Regions from separate parts of the Homo sapiens genome. Here regions 1 and 2 are each linked to region 3. Evidence: promoter capture Hi-C in 16 types of primary human blood cells and fetal thymus (Javierre and others, 2016). All regions are on one chromosome and are shown on one strand. Each heading gives the region's core, a stretch centred on a gene start or on the middle of the fragment in contact. The rest is flanking DNA. Distances are from core to core; before and after follow the strand shown. Region 1 overlaps KIAA1210. Region 2 has its middle 3.7 kb from the start of DOCK11. Region 3 holds the start of ZCCHC12 (zinc finger CCHC-type containing 12).

Region 1 (4,021 bases), core at 496-2,995, 270 kb after region 3:
ATGTAAAGACAAACATGTAACTCTTTACACTCCCACTCAAAGTGCCTGTGCAAACAGACACAGCTCATAATAATTTATTTTTGAGTAAACGTGGTCAGATTGGCCTGGATTCAAAATCTCTTCATCATTTACTTGCTGCGTGACCTTGGGCAAGTTATTCTCTGAATCACTGTGTCTACATCAATAAATAAGGGACCAGGAGAAACCTCCTGTGGGACTTGTAGATCTAAGAAATTACAGAGCAGGGAGAAAGTGGTAGTAGTCCCTGTGTCATAAATGATCCTGGATCTTTTTTATGTTCATCCACATGTCAGAGAGAGAGTCACAGGGAAGAAGTGGATGCTCTGGCCTTCTCAGAGGGTAATGCCCGGGCTTTTTCTCAACTAGGCTATACAGAAAGAAGAAAGTTAGAAGGGTCATACTGCTTCCCTCAGCCAACCTTCTCCATCTCCCAGGTTTGTGGTGAGGTATTCAGGGGATAATGCATGTATAGGGTTTGGCACCTAGTAATTGGTCACCCCTTCTTTGACACCAAACTAACAAGGTACTCTCAAGGCCACCAGAGGGCTTCCCTCTGCCGCCCTGCTCCTCCACCTGTTCTTTCAACTCGTATTTTGTCTAAAACCTAAAGTGAAATTGAGATGCCTAAGCTAGAGGCAAGATGGTGGGATGAAAAAAGTGTTGAGCTGGAAGTCAGAAGACTGGATTCTGGCCCTAGCTCTGCTATCACCTGGGTGTTTGACTTTGGGTAAGTATCTGAAATTATTTGTGCTTTAATGCCCTTCTCTGTAAAATGTTTGTACTATACAATCTTTTAGTCACTTCACCTCTGATTTACAGTCTCTTCCTTTCAGCCCAGAATCACTGGCGAATTCAGTTTTTGATCAAAGTGAGTTTTATAGACAACTGACACATCGTTTTAAACACTAAACACTAACATTTTTTAACTTTTTTTTTTTAAACGGAGTTTTGCTCTTGTCCAGGCTATAGTGCAATGACACAATCTCGGCTCACCACAACCTCCACCTCCCGGGTTCAAGCAATTCTCCTGCCTCAGCCTCCAGAGTAGCTGGGATTACAGGGATGTGCTACCACACCTGGTTAATTTTGTATTTTTAGTAGAGACGGGGTTTCTGCATGTTGGTCAGGCTGGTCTCACACTCCTGACCTCAGGTGATCCGCCCGCCTTGGCCTCCCAAAGTGCTGGGATTACAGGCATGAACCATTGCACCCAGCCCTAATCCTTAACTTTTACTAAAAGCCTTTTCCAAAAGCATTATTTCTCTATCTTTTTAAACAGGGATCACGGAAAATAATCTACTTTTTCTAGATGACTTGGACAAATAATAAAATTATCTATTACATTGGACTATGATATAGTGTGGCCCTGAAGGACATATTGAGGTGGGCAAGGTTCTTGAGCCCCTATATTAAATGGCCCCAGATTGTTTCTGTCATTCTGTCTGCTACCAGCTGTCACTTCTCTTTGCTGTCAGGTCTGAGTCTAATCTGTGGCCATGTTTTTAACACAGTAGGTCTGCTTCCTGGAAAGTCATGTGGCATCTATTTGGAGATCTTTGGATGGGTTAACAACTAAGTTCTGGATGTTTAGGGTTGCTGAAAGCTTGATCTCCAAATAAGTGGAATAGTGCTGCAATTTGTGACTCATGGGTCTCATCTGATTAATAACTGAAAGAATCCTGATCTGGGCTAGGGTTGAATATTCTCTACAAATAGGGCTGAGTGAACTCCCAGATGTTAGCCCAATAAGCAGTTTATGGGGGTTTAAATCATTTACTGTTTCTGCTTCCTTTTAGTCCCTTCTAATATAAGTTCCACATGGATAGGAAACCACACCCAGCAGATGCAAGCTTGCTCACCCCTCTGGGGGTGTCAAGCTTAGGACAGCACCCTTGACCTTGCCAAGCTTACTTAGGGCATGAGTCTCCTACACCATACTATTTCCCTAGTAGTAGTTTGCAAAGGTTGGAACTCATCTTTTCTTATACAGGAGTTTAGTGCCCTGTCTCTTGAAGGACTTACAATCACTTGAAGGTTCTTCTTTTGTTTGCGGGGATTTAAAGTCATTTTGTGGCGAGCAGCTGAAGAATCCAAACAGCCCTGGGTGGTGGCTGGGGTGCTGAAACCAATGGGCAGCTGGGTGCTACTGGTAGAGGCAAGTGTGGCAAATGCAGTCAAGGACTGTGAGCAATCAGGTCCAGATGATAACTCAGAGAAGCTCTGGGGAAGGTGGGAGAAAATAGACGAGTCAACCCGTATGCTGTTACTGGTCTCAAAAGTTGGATATTCTTCCGGCTGAAGAATTCCCAAAGAAGAAATCCTTCATGAACTATTGTCCCCTTTCCTACATTTCCTGTCAATGGGCTTATTCATTAGAGGTAAGCTCCATAATTTTACTGGTTTTCTTGCAGATGAAAACAAGAAACAGGAAGAAGTTTGGGTTACTCCTCTGCTTAGAAAGCTTTCAGGGGCACCCCATTGTCCTTGGGATGGGAACACAACCACTTAATTGAGTTTGCAAAGTCAGAGAGATTGCATGTTCTCTTGTCCTAGATCCCCTTCTTATCAACAGGACATCTGGCTGGGGTGAGAGGAACAATTGGTATCAGTGAAACCCAGCAGAGCTCTGGGATTTCTATATTGGAGGGTTGGGTGGAGGGAGGAAAATCAGGTTGGAAGAGGGCCTGTCTGCAAGGTGCATTTTCATAGACAGCACACTACCTTTTATTTATATTGACAGTTCATGGGTGCAAGACTGATGGGAGGACCCTCAGGAACTGAATGCTCTAACCTCCAGTGGGATAGTGATGGAGCCTGTAACCCTGTCCTCATTATGGCTGGCCTCCATATCTCCATACTATTTGGTTCTGGGACACCTAGTTGAATTCCTCTGTAGGATCTTCAAAATAGTCTCCTCTGGGCTTCTGGACATAGCATTTTCCATATCTCAAAGAGCCTCCCCAGAGCTCTTTCCATTTCTAAGAAGATTTCGATTTCTGTTAGCAGAAGGCCCTTTGAAGATCAGCTGATAAACTGTCTCTGCTAGATACTAGTAGCAAACCATATATTATAATTTAGCAAGTAGACAGAATCTCCCATTGTGTTTACCCACTAAGTTCTCTTCAGGCTAGTTTTGCAAAGTGCCAGGTATCCCCTTGGTACTTGCAGCTTTCACATGCCTTCATGGTTCCCACCACCATTGTATGTTGATGCAGTGATAACCTTAGCTACTATCTTGGTTATGAAGATGGCACTGTCATTCCAGTGCATGGGGACTTAACGCAGTGCTAATGAGTCAGGCTGATGACAAATCCTGCAGACCATTCAGTTTTGGATTCAGGGAGAAGACAGAGAAATAGTACAGTTGACTTTTGTGGGATCAATCACACAAAAGTAGGATTGATCCCAAGATTTCCTTTACTTCTTTGTGCAACTTTCATCTATGAATTTATATACTGCCTCTTCCTGATATCATCTAGTTAGATTATGTTATCTACTGGAAATATAAATTTGATATCAGTGTATAGACTAAAAGCTCTTCTTTTATTGTTCTGAACATCTTTCATACCTCAGAGTGGTGTCATAGTTCTGGTCTTTTGGGGCTGGAGGATAACATCTATGCTCCCACTAACCTCACATGATCTGTCTTCCTTTTATCCCTGACCACATTACCAGCCATTTCCTGCTCCAGACACACTGCTGGTCTGCTGTTCTTCAAGCACTTCAGGCATGCTCTCCCCTTGGGGCCATTGTGCCTGCTGTTCCCTCTGCTAGGCATGCTCTTCCCCCATGTCCATGTGGCTAGCTCCCCTACTTTTTTCAGGTTTTGATTCAAAAGCCACCTTTTCATGGCCTGGTGTGGTGGGCTCACGCCTGTAATCTCAGCACTTTGGGAGGCTGAGGTACGCAGATCAACTGAGGTCAGGAGTTTGAGGCCAGCTTGGCCAACATGATGAAACTCTGTCTCTACAAAAAATACAAAACTTAGCCGGGTGTGGTG
Region 2 (3,585 bases), core at 779-3,278, 330 kb before region 3:
TCAACTCTCTCTTGTTTGCTCACTTTTTTTTCTTTTTCTTTTCTTTTCTTTTCTTTCTTTCTTTCTTTTTTTTTGACAGAATCTCACTCTGTTGCCCAGGCTGGAATGCAGTGGTGGGATCTTGGCTCACTGCAACCTCCACCTCCTGGGTTCAAGTGATCCTCTCACCTCAGCCTCCTGAGTAGCTGGGATTACAGGTATGCACCACCACACCCTGCCAACTTTAGTATTCTTAGTAGAGACAGGGTTTCACCATGTTGGCCAGGCTGGTCTTGAACTCCTGACGTCAAGTGATCCACCCACATTGGCCTCCCAAAATGCTGGAACTACAGGCGTGAGCCACTGCGCCTGGCCCTGTTTGCTCACTTTGGTAAACTGCCATGTTATTAACTGCCTTCTGGAGAAGCTCATGAGGCAAGGAACTGAGGCCAACCTCTGGCTGACAGCCAGCAAGGAACTAAGGCCCTTACTACAACAACCTGTGAGGATCTGGATGCTGCCACAACCAGTGAATGGGCTTAAAAACAAATTCTGCCCCAGTTAAACCTTGAGATGGGTGAGGCCCCTGCTCTGACACCTTGATCATAGCCTATGAGAGATCCTGAACTCATACCTTGATGGCAGCCTAGCGAGAGACTCTGGTCTGGACAACCCAACTAAGCCATGCTTAGATTCCTGAACGACAGAAACCGTGAGATAATACATGTGTATTGTTTTAAGCTGCTAAACTTGGGGGTAATTTGTTACACAGCAAGAGATAACACTAGATATTGTAGGTCACTGTAAGTAGAAACTGAATAGGGGGTTGGTGGGACTCACTGGCTATGTTGCAAATAGACTACAGGAGGGTAAGGGTGAAAGCAGGGAGGTCAGTTGAGAGGCTATTGACATAAGCTTGGTAAGGGTTGCTGGTGGTATTGGTAGAGATATTAAGAAGTGGTTGGATTTCAGACGTATTTTGAAGGCAGAGCCAACAGGCTTTGCTGTTGGTTGGATAAAGGGTGTGTAGGTAATAAGATGACTCTAAGGCTTTTGTTCTGAGGAACTAGAAAGAATGATCATATACTGAGATGGAGAAAACTATAGAAAAACTAGATTCGTGGAGAAAGAATAAGAGTTCGATTTTAGGCACGCTTAATTAGAGATACTAGACATCCCAGTGGGGATGCTGAGTTCGATATACAAGTTTGATGTTTGAGGCTGGAAATAAAAATTTGAGAGTCTTTAGCATTTAGATGATAAAATGTTAAAGTCTCCTTGCTCCCCACTTCCACTCCCCACCCATGAGGCCCCCACTATTAGCTCATGTATAGGGACATACATATACACACACACCACACACACAAATTTTTCTTTTTTTGAGACAGAATCCCGCTGTATCCTCCAGGCTGGAGTGCAGTGAAGCGATCTTGGCTCACTGCAATCTCCACCTCTCGGGTTCAAGCCATTCTCATGCCTCAGCCTCCCAAGTAGCTGAGATTACAGGGTGCACACCATCACGCCTGGGTAATTTTTGTATTTTTAGTAGAGACGGAGTTTCGCCATGCCATGTTGGTCAGGTTGGTCTCAAACTCCTGGCCAGGTTGGTCTCAAACTCCTGGCCTCAGGTGATCCGCCTGCCTCAGCCTCCCAAAATGTTGGGATTACAGGCGTGAGCCACCGCGCCTGGCCCACACATACACATTTTCATAAATAGAGTTGTTCTGCAACTTGCTTTTATCAGTGAATATCCTTTGGAGCTTTTTCAATGTAATTACATACATATTTACCTCATTCTTTTTTTAATAGCTGAAGAGAGTCCCTTCATTTGAATAAATCATGTGTATTCATTCATTCGCTGAACAACTATTTTTTGAGCACTCACAATGTGCCAGGCAGTGGTCTAGGGACTGATCATAAAGAAGTCCCTTTTAGATGGACATTCAGGTTCTTTCTAATATTTTGCTATTACAAACATTTGATATAATGACCATCCTTATACAGGCATCTGAGCTCACATATGCAAGTTTTTATTTGGCATTGATTTATACAAGTGGAATTTCTCAGTCAAAGGGCTCAATGGCATTTCTAATACTTGTATCTCAGGTTCAATTAGGATAGAATTAGGATAGTGTTAATGCAGCAGCTAAATTTGTGATAAAAACTGAATATATTTAACGAATGTGGAAAAGAAATCGCCCAATAAAATGCCCTATTGGAAGTTGTAAGATTGCACCTACGATTTCTCTTTACTATGTGAGTGCAGTTATATCCAAATCCTACCCATTCCGCAAAGTCCAGCTCAAATGCTCAAACACCCCCTGTTCCAGAAAACCTTTCATAGACCTAAGAAGATATGATCTCTCCTGCCTTTTTTTTTTCTTTTTTCTTTTTTGAGATGGAGTCTCACTCTTCTTGCCCAGGCTGGAGGGCAATGGTGCAATCTTGGCTCAGTGAAATCTCTGCCTCCCGGGTTCAAGTGATCTCCTGCCTCAGCCTCCCAAGTAGTTGGGATTACAGGTGCCTGCCACCATACCTGGCTAATTTTTGTATTTTTAGTAGAGACGGATTTTGCCATGTTGGTTAGGCTGGTCTCGAACTCCTGACCTCAGGTGATCCACCCACCTCGGCCTCCCAAAGTGCTGGGATTACAGGCATGAGCCACCGCGCTCGGCCTCTCCTGCCTCTTTACCTTGAGTATGGTCTGTATCACATACTACTTTGTACCATAAATACATTCTCTACTAGACTTTCTTTTTTTTTTCCCAGAAGGAAATAGTGTCTTTAATTCATACTGCATTCTCCCTCAGTGTGTAGCACCATGCTCAATGTTTATGTATTTAAATAGAAGTCTTAAACCAGAAGAAGTGAAATCTACAATCTCAAGAATGAGCATAGAGCCTGCACAATGGCCAGATGGTGTTTGTGCACCATCAGTGTGACATATGCTTCCCATGGCTCACAATACTCTGCAGAAATTGCTTACTTCTCCTACTCTATCTTGTACCACTCTTCTTCCTTCTACGCTCCAGCCACACTGGCCTTTTTTTGGTCTTTGAACACACTAAGTCTGCCCCCATCTCTAGGCCTTCGTTCCTGGCATTTCTGTCGCCTGGAATGGTCTACCTGCTGATCTCTGCTGACTGCTTCTTTAAGACTCAGCTCAGTGTTTACCTCCTCAAAGAAGCTTTTCTTGATCATCTATTTTAAACTAGGTCCCCAACTCCAGTTACTCTCTATCAACTCCCCTTAATTCTCTACATAGCATTTATGTTTCTGAAATTAACATGTTCATTTCTTTGCACTGACATGTGAGCTCCAGGAGAGGAGGGACCTTGCCTGTCTTGTTCAATGCTGTGCACCTTCAGTGGCTACCATAGAGCCTGTGGTACTAAGAATGCTTTTGGCTGAAAGTAACAGAATATTCATCTAAACGTGTCATAAACTGCAGGGGTTTATTTTTCTTACATAAAAAGGAACTAGAGGTAGGCAGTATCAGGCCTGGTTCAACAGTTCAATGCTGTCTGGATTCTACATTGGCTTCTCTGAGATTGCCTTGGCCTTGCCTCATGGTTGCAATATGGCTGCCAAGGGCCAAAGCATTGC
Region 3 (4,162 bases), core at 1,663-4,162:
TTGAAGGCAACTAAAGGGAGTTATTCTTTCAACTGAAGGCATTGGCTCTGAATCTTAAGGATTTTAAGGGTTTTTTGTGTGTGTGTTTTTGTTTTGTTTTGTTTTGCAATTGGAAAATGAAATGTGGCCTCCTTAGAACCACCAGAGCTAGAATTCTTGTAATTGGAAGCCCCCTTACCCCCAACCCCTCTCCTATAATATGAGGCCAGAGATAAGGTATGCTCTGTATCCAACTGGAGCCAGTTTAGCAAATGCTCCTCCAAGCCCTATATGAAGAGACCTCCGCTTGGTTCTGATGATGCAACCCAGGCAACTTTACACAATCAAAATTTTTTGCACAGCTCTGAGACACAGTCTTTGTCCTTTCTGATGCCACCAGGTCCAACTGCAGAACACCTGATTTGGCGATGAAGCCAATTTAAATGTAGAACACGATTCTGCTTAGAGGCCAGGGTCAGATGTCATAGTATTGGGGAGCAGAAGCAAGAGTCTGAAGAAAACCCCTAAGCTATTGCCAGCATCACCCCCGACTGTGTGAAGTAAGCAACCTGCCTTCTCTGCACCTCCAAAATCCTCCACCCACCACCACCACCATTCCAGTGTTCCATCCACAAGAGAAAGGTCATGCCCCTGAGATGAAGGTGCTTTGTCTTTAAATGTAGATTGTTTACTCCAAGGAATTCTAGGTATTGGAGTTGGAAATAAGAAGGCAGAAAGAAGCAGGTAAAGTACCTTGGCAGGCTGAAGCTGAAATTAACAGCAGCTGAAAAGCATCAGACTGTTCACTCACTTCCAAACATCAGGAGTCAAGAACAAGCAACTCCTTTGCACTTGGGCAGTCCAAGTGCACTTGGTCTTGACCCCCCAAAGTTCCCACAGGAGTCTCTTAACCACACTTTACATGAGAGAAGGAAGGCTTGCTTTCCCAGAACCAGAAGTAAGGGAAAATGGAGTGCTGCAGGCTGAATTATGTTCCCCCAAATTCATTGTAATCCTAACCCTCAGTACCTTAGAGTGTGACTGTATTTAAAGATAGGGCCTTTAAAGAGGTTATTAAGGTAAAAATGAGGCCCTTAGGGTGGGCCCCAATCTGACTTGTGTCCTTATAAGAAGAGGAAATTTGGACACACTGAGAGAACCCAGAGGCACATATGCACAGAGAGGATGGCCAAGCAAGAGGGCAGCCATGTGCAAGCCAAGGAGAGAAGCCTCAGGAGAAACCAACCTTGCTGGCACCTTGAAGTTGGACTTCCCAACCTTCAGAACTATGAGCAATACATTTCTGTTGTTTATAAACCACCCAGTCTATGGTATTTTGCCATAGCACCCCAAACAGACTAAAACAGCACTGTAACAAATTATCACAAACTTGGCTTAAAACAAGAGAAGTTTAATTTCTCACAGTTCTAGAAGCCAGAAGCTTAACATCTGTTTCTCTGGGCTGAATTCAAGGTGTCAGTAGGACTGTGCTTTATTCCTTGCCTCTTCCAGTTTCTGGTGGCTGCTAGCATTCCTCTGCTTATGGCCACATCACTAATCTCTGGTCATTGCCTTCTCTTCTTGGTGCACCAACTCTCCCTCTTTTATAAGGGCACTTGTGGTTTAGATTTCAGCCTGCCTGGAAAATTAAGTCAAAAAGCCTTAACTTAATCACACCTGCAAAGACCATTTTACTTTATAAGGTAACATTTACAGGTTTCAGGGATTAGGACTTGATACATTTGGGTGGCCATTATTTAGCTTCATACAGAGTCCGAAATCTTTGCATACAATTTCAGGAAGATCATGGATTCCAGGTAGGCACATCTGCTCTGGAGTTGCATTTCACCACAGATACCTGTGGACAGATATTGGAGACAGGCTCATTTACTTATTCACAAACCTTGCTACAACTCAGAACCAACCGCAGCGCCGGTTAAAAATACTAAATACAAAACCACATCACAACCGCTAGTCCTAGTAAATCTGAATCCACCAGAGTTGGGGCCCAGAGCCTACATTTCTTTTCTTTTCCTTTTTTTTTTTTTTTTTTTTTTTTTTTTTTTTTTTTTGAGAGGGAGTCTTGTTCCCTTGCCAGGCTGAAGTGCAGCGGTGCGATCTTGGTTCACTGCAACCTCCGCCTCCCAGGTTGGAGAGATTCTCTAGCCTCAGCCTCCCAAGTAGCTGGGATTACAGGCACGCGCCATCATGCCCAGCTGATTTTTTTTTTTTTTTTTGTCTTTTTAGTAGAGACGGGGTTTCAACATGTTGGCCAGGATGGTCTCGATCTCTTGACCTCGTGAGCCGCCCGCCTCGGCCTCCCAAAGTGCTGGGATTTCAGGCGTGAGCCACCATTCCCGGCCAGAAGACTGCATTTCTAACAAGCTCCCCCAAATGACTCTGATGTCTTGCCCCCATACTTGAATGGGTATTGGTTGAGAGCCTTGTTCTCCAGCTCTCCTCTCTGTTAAATGGACATACTGCTACTTCTTTCACAGTAAAAGAGGAGATGTGTGTGAAAGCCTGTTTCCGCAATGCACGTGCTAATGCTCTTCCCGCCCCTTCCCCTCTTCCCCGTCTTTTCCCTATACCAAGGTGAAGAACTTTTATTATTCACTTGATTTTGGACCCACTTCGTGTTTAATGCACCTGGCCTAAGATGCAGAGTTGAGCCCAGGGAGAAGGGACGGGTTGGGGGAGGAAGAAAGAGTCGCAAATTCCCAGGCAGATTGGCTCCATCGGTCTAATCAAGCTGCACTTGACGCTCCGCGGGCCTGCTGCGCCCCCGCCCCCTCAGGCGAAAACTCGCCTCTGCCCAAGGCTGTGCGGGGCGTCCGCCCCCGCACTTCGCTGATTGGCCGCACTAGCCCGCTCGTCACGCTCTTTTGTCTCAGCTGGCAGAGGATAAAAGCCGCCGCGGCTGCCTTAGGAACGGCGCTGCCTCGTCTCTGCTACCCCTGGTTGGGCGGCCCTGCGAAGCAGCTCCTTCGGGCAGCCCCGGGTCGCTTAGCGGCCAAGGAGGCTTCAGTTCTTTGCCGCCTGCAAGGCGGAGACCAGAAGGCGGAATCCACAGCTGGCGACGCGGGAGCATCTGCTGTCCACCAGCGGAGCACAGGTAAAGAATGGGGGTGTGATTGCCCGGCGGGGAGAGGGGTGGGGGAAGACCCACCAGTACTGGGCGGCTCCCAGCTTGGAGAATCGGTGACTGTGAGGCAGGGGTAGGAGTACTCTCGTGGCCCGGCTGCGCTGAGGGAGGAGGTGGGGTTCACCTGGATACTGCGGGCTAGGTAGGATTTGCCTGGATTTGGGGGTGGGAGGAGAGGCGAGGAGTAGCGGGGGGAGGAATCTCGAGCTGTTTGCTTCGAACATCCTTTGCATCTCCTCATCTCTTTCTGGGAGGAATATGTGGGTGGGTGTGTCCAACTCCTATTCCCTTTCTCCGTGGCAGGCCATCAAAGCCGCATCTGAACTTGAATTCTGTGCAGCTGATTGCAGAGCTGGTAGGCCGACGGCTTCCCGGGGGAAATGTAATGCTGGAGGGTGGGGGGCTGGTCTCTGGCTTATAGTCAGGAGGGGGCAGAGAGAATTTTTCGCCTGGCAACAGCGGAGGTGGTGGGTAGCAGGATGACGGGTGAAGCTGCTTCTAACCCTTCCCTTCTCTGGCCTTCTCCGCTGTGGCGCAATCTTGAAACCTCAAGGACCCGGATCTGCGACCCCCTGTGGACAGAGGTTGACCGTACCCCGGAGAGGAGCTTTCTCACGGAGGGCACTGGTTGCAGAGGCTGGAAGTGAAATAAAGACGCGCTCTTGTTTCAGAGTTCGTGTAAGAATCTGAGAAATAACAAGGGGGACGGGCGTGGGGGGCACTTTGAGAAGGGGGTGTGGTTGAGACCAGAGACCATGAGGTTAATGAGATCTTATTTTATTTCCACAAATCTGCGATCATTGTACTCTATTTGGAGAGCCCAATATCAGCTCCAGACACTGCTACACCTAGAATTTGAAGCAACAGTTACCGTCCCTCTTGGAGGACTGGTGGGAGGGATGGATGTGGCTGCAAAAAGCACCTTGCTAGCACGCAGGCATCGGGTAGCTCTGGGAGGTTGTAAGTGTCAATCTCCTACAGGATTATTTTTAGGGTAGTGGGCAAATATAAAATGTACTGCAGGATATTCAGGTAGGA

What was found. The method cuts DNA at HindIII sites, captures the fragments that hold promoters and counts their contacts. A CHiCAGO score of 5 or more calls a contact.
Region 1: a contact is called between a fragment that was not itself captured here and the fragment with the promoter of ZCCHC12 in region 3, in 1 of 17 cell types (M1 macrophages). The highest score is 6.0, in M1 macrophages.
Region 2: a fragment that was not itself captured here is called in contact with the fragment with the promoter of ZCCHC12 in region 3 in 1 of 17 cell types (monocytes); the score reaches 6.3 in monocytes.

What each region holds. Positions count from the first base shown.
Region 1 is chrX:119,094,451-119,098,471 of GRCh38, forward strand. It overlaps KIAA1210, which reads right to left. Exons shown (of 12, transcript NM_001394962.1): 7 at 2,044-2,241. Among named protein-coding and RNA genes, the nearest start is that of CT47C1, 23 kb to the left of the region's middle. The HindIII fragment of the contact is 247 bases long and covers 1,623-1,869 here.
Region 2 is chrX:118,490,317-118,493,901 of GRCh38, forward strand. No RefSeq gene overlaps it. Among named protein-coding and RNA genes, the nearest start is that of DOCK11, 3.7 kb to the right of the region's middle. The HindIII fragment of the contact is 2,272 bases long and covers 893-3,164 here.
Region 3 is chrX:118,820,912-118,825,073 of GRCh38, forward strand. ZCCHC12 (zinc finger CCHC-type containing 12) reads left to right here and starts at 2,913. Exons shown (of 4, transcript NM_173798.4): 1 at 2,913-3,094; 2 at 3,428-3,479; 3 at 3,678-3,802. The HindIII fragment of the contact is 2,857 bases long and covers 1,419-4,162 here.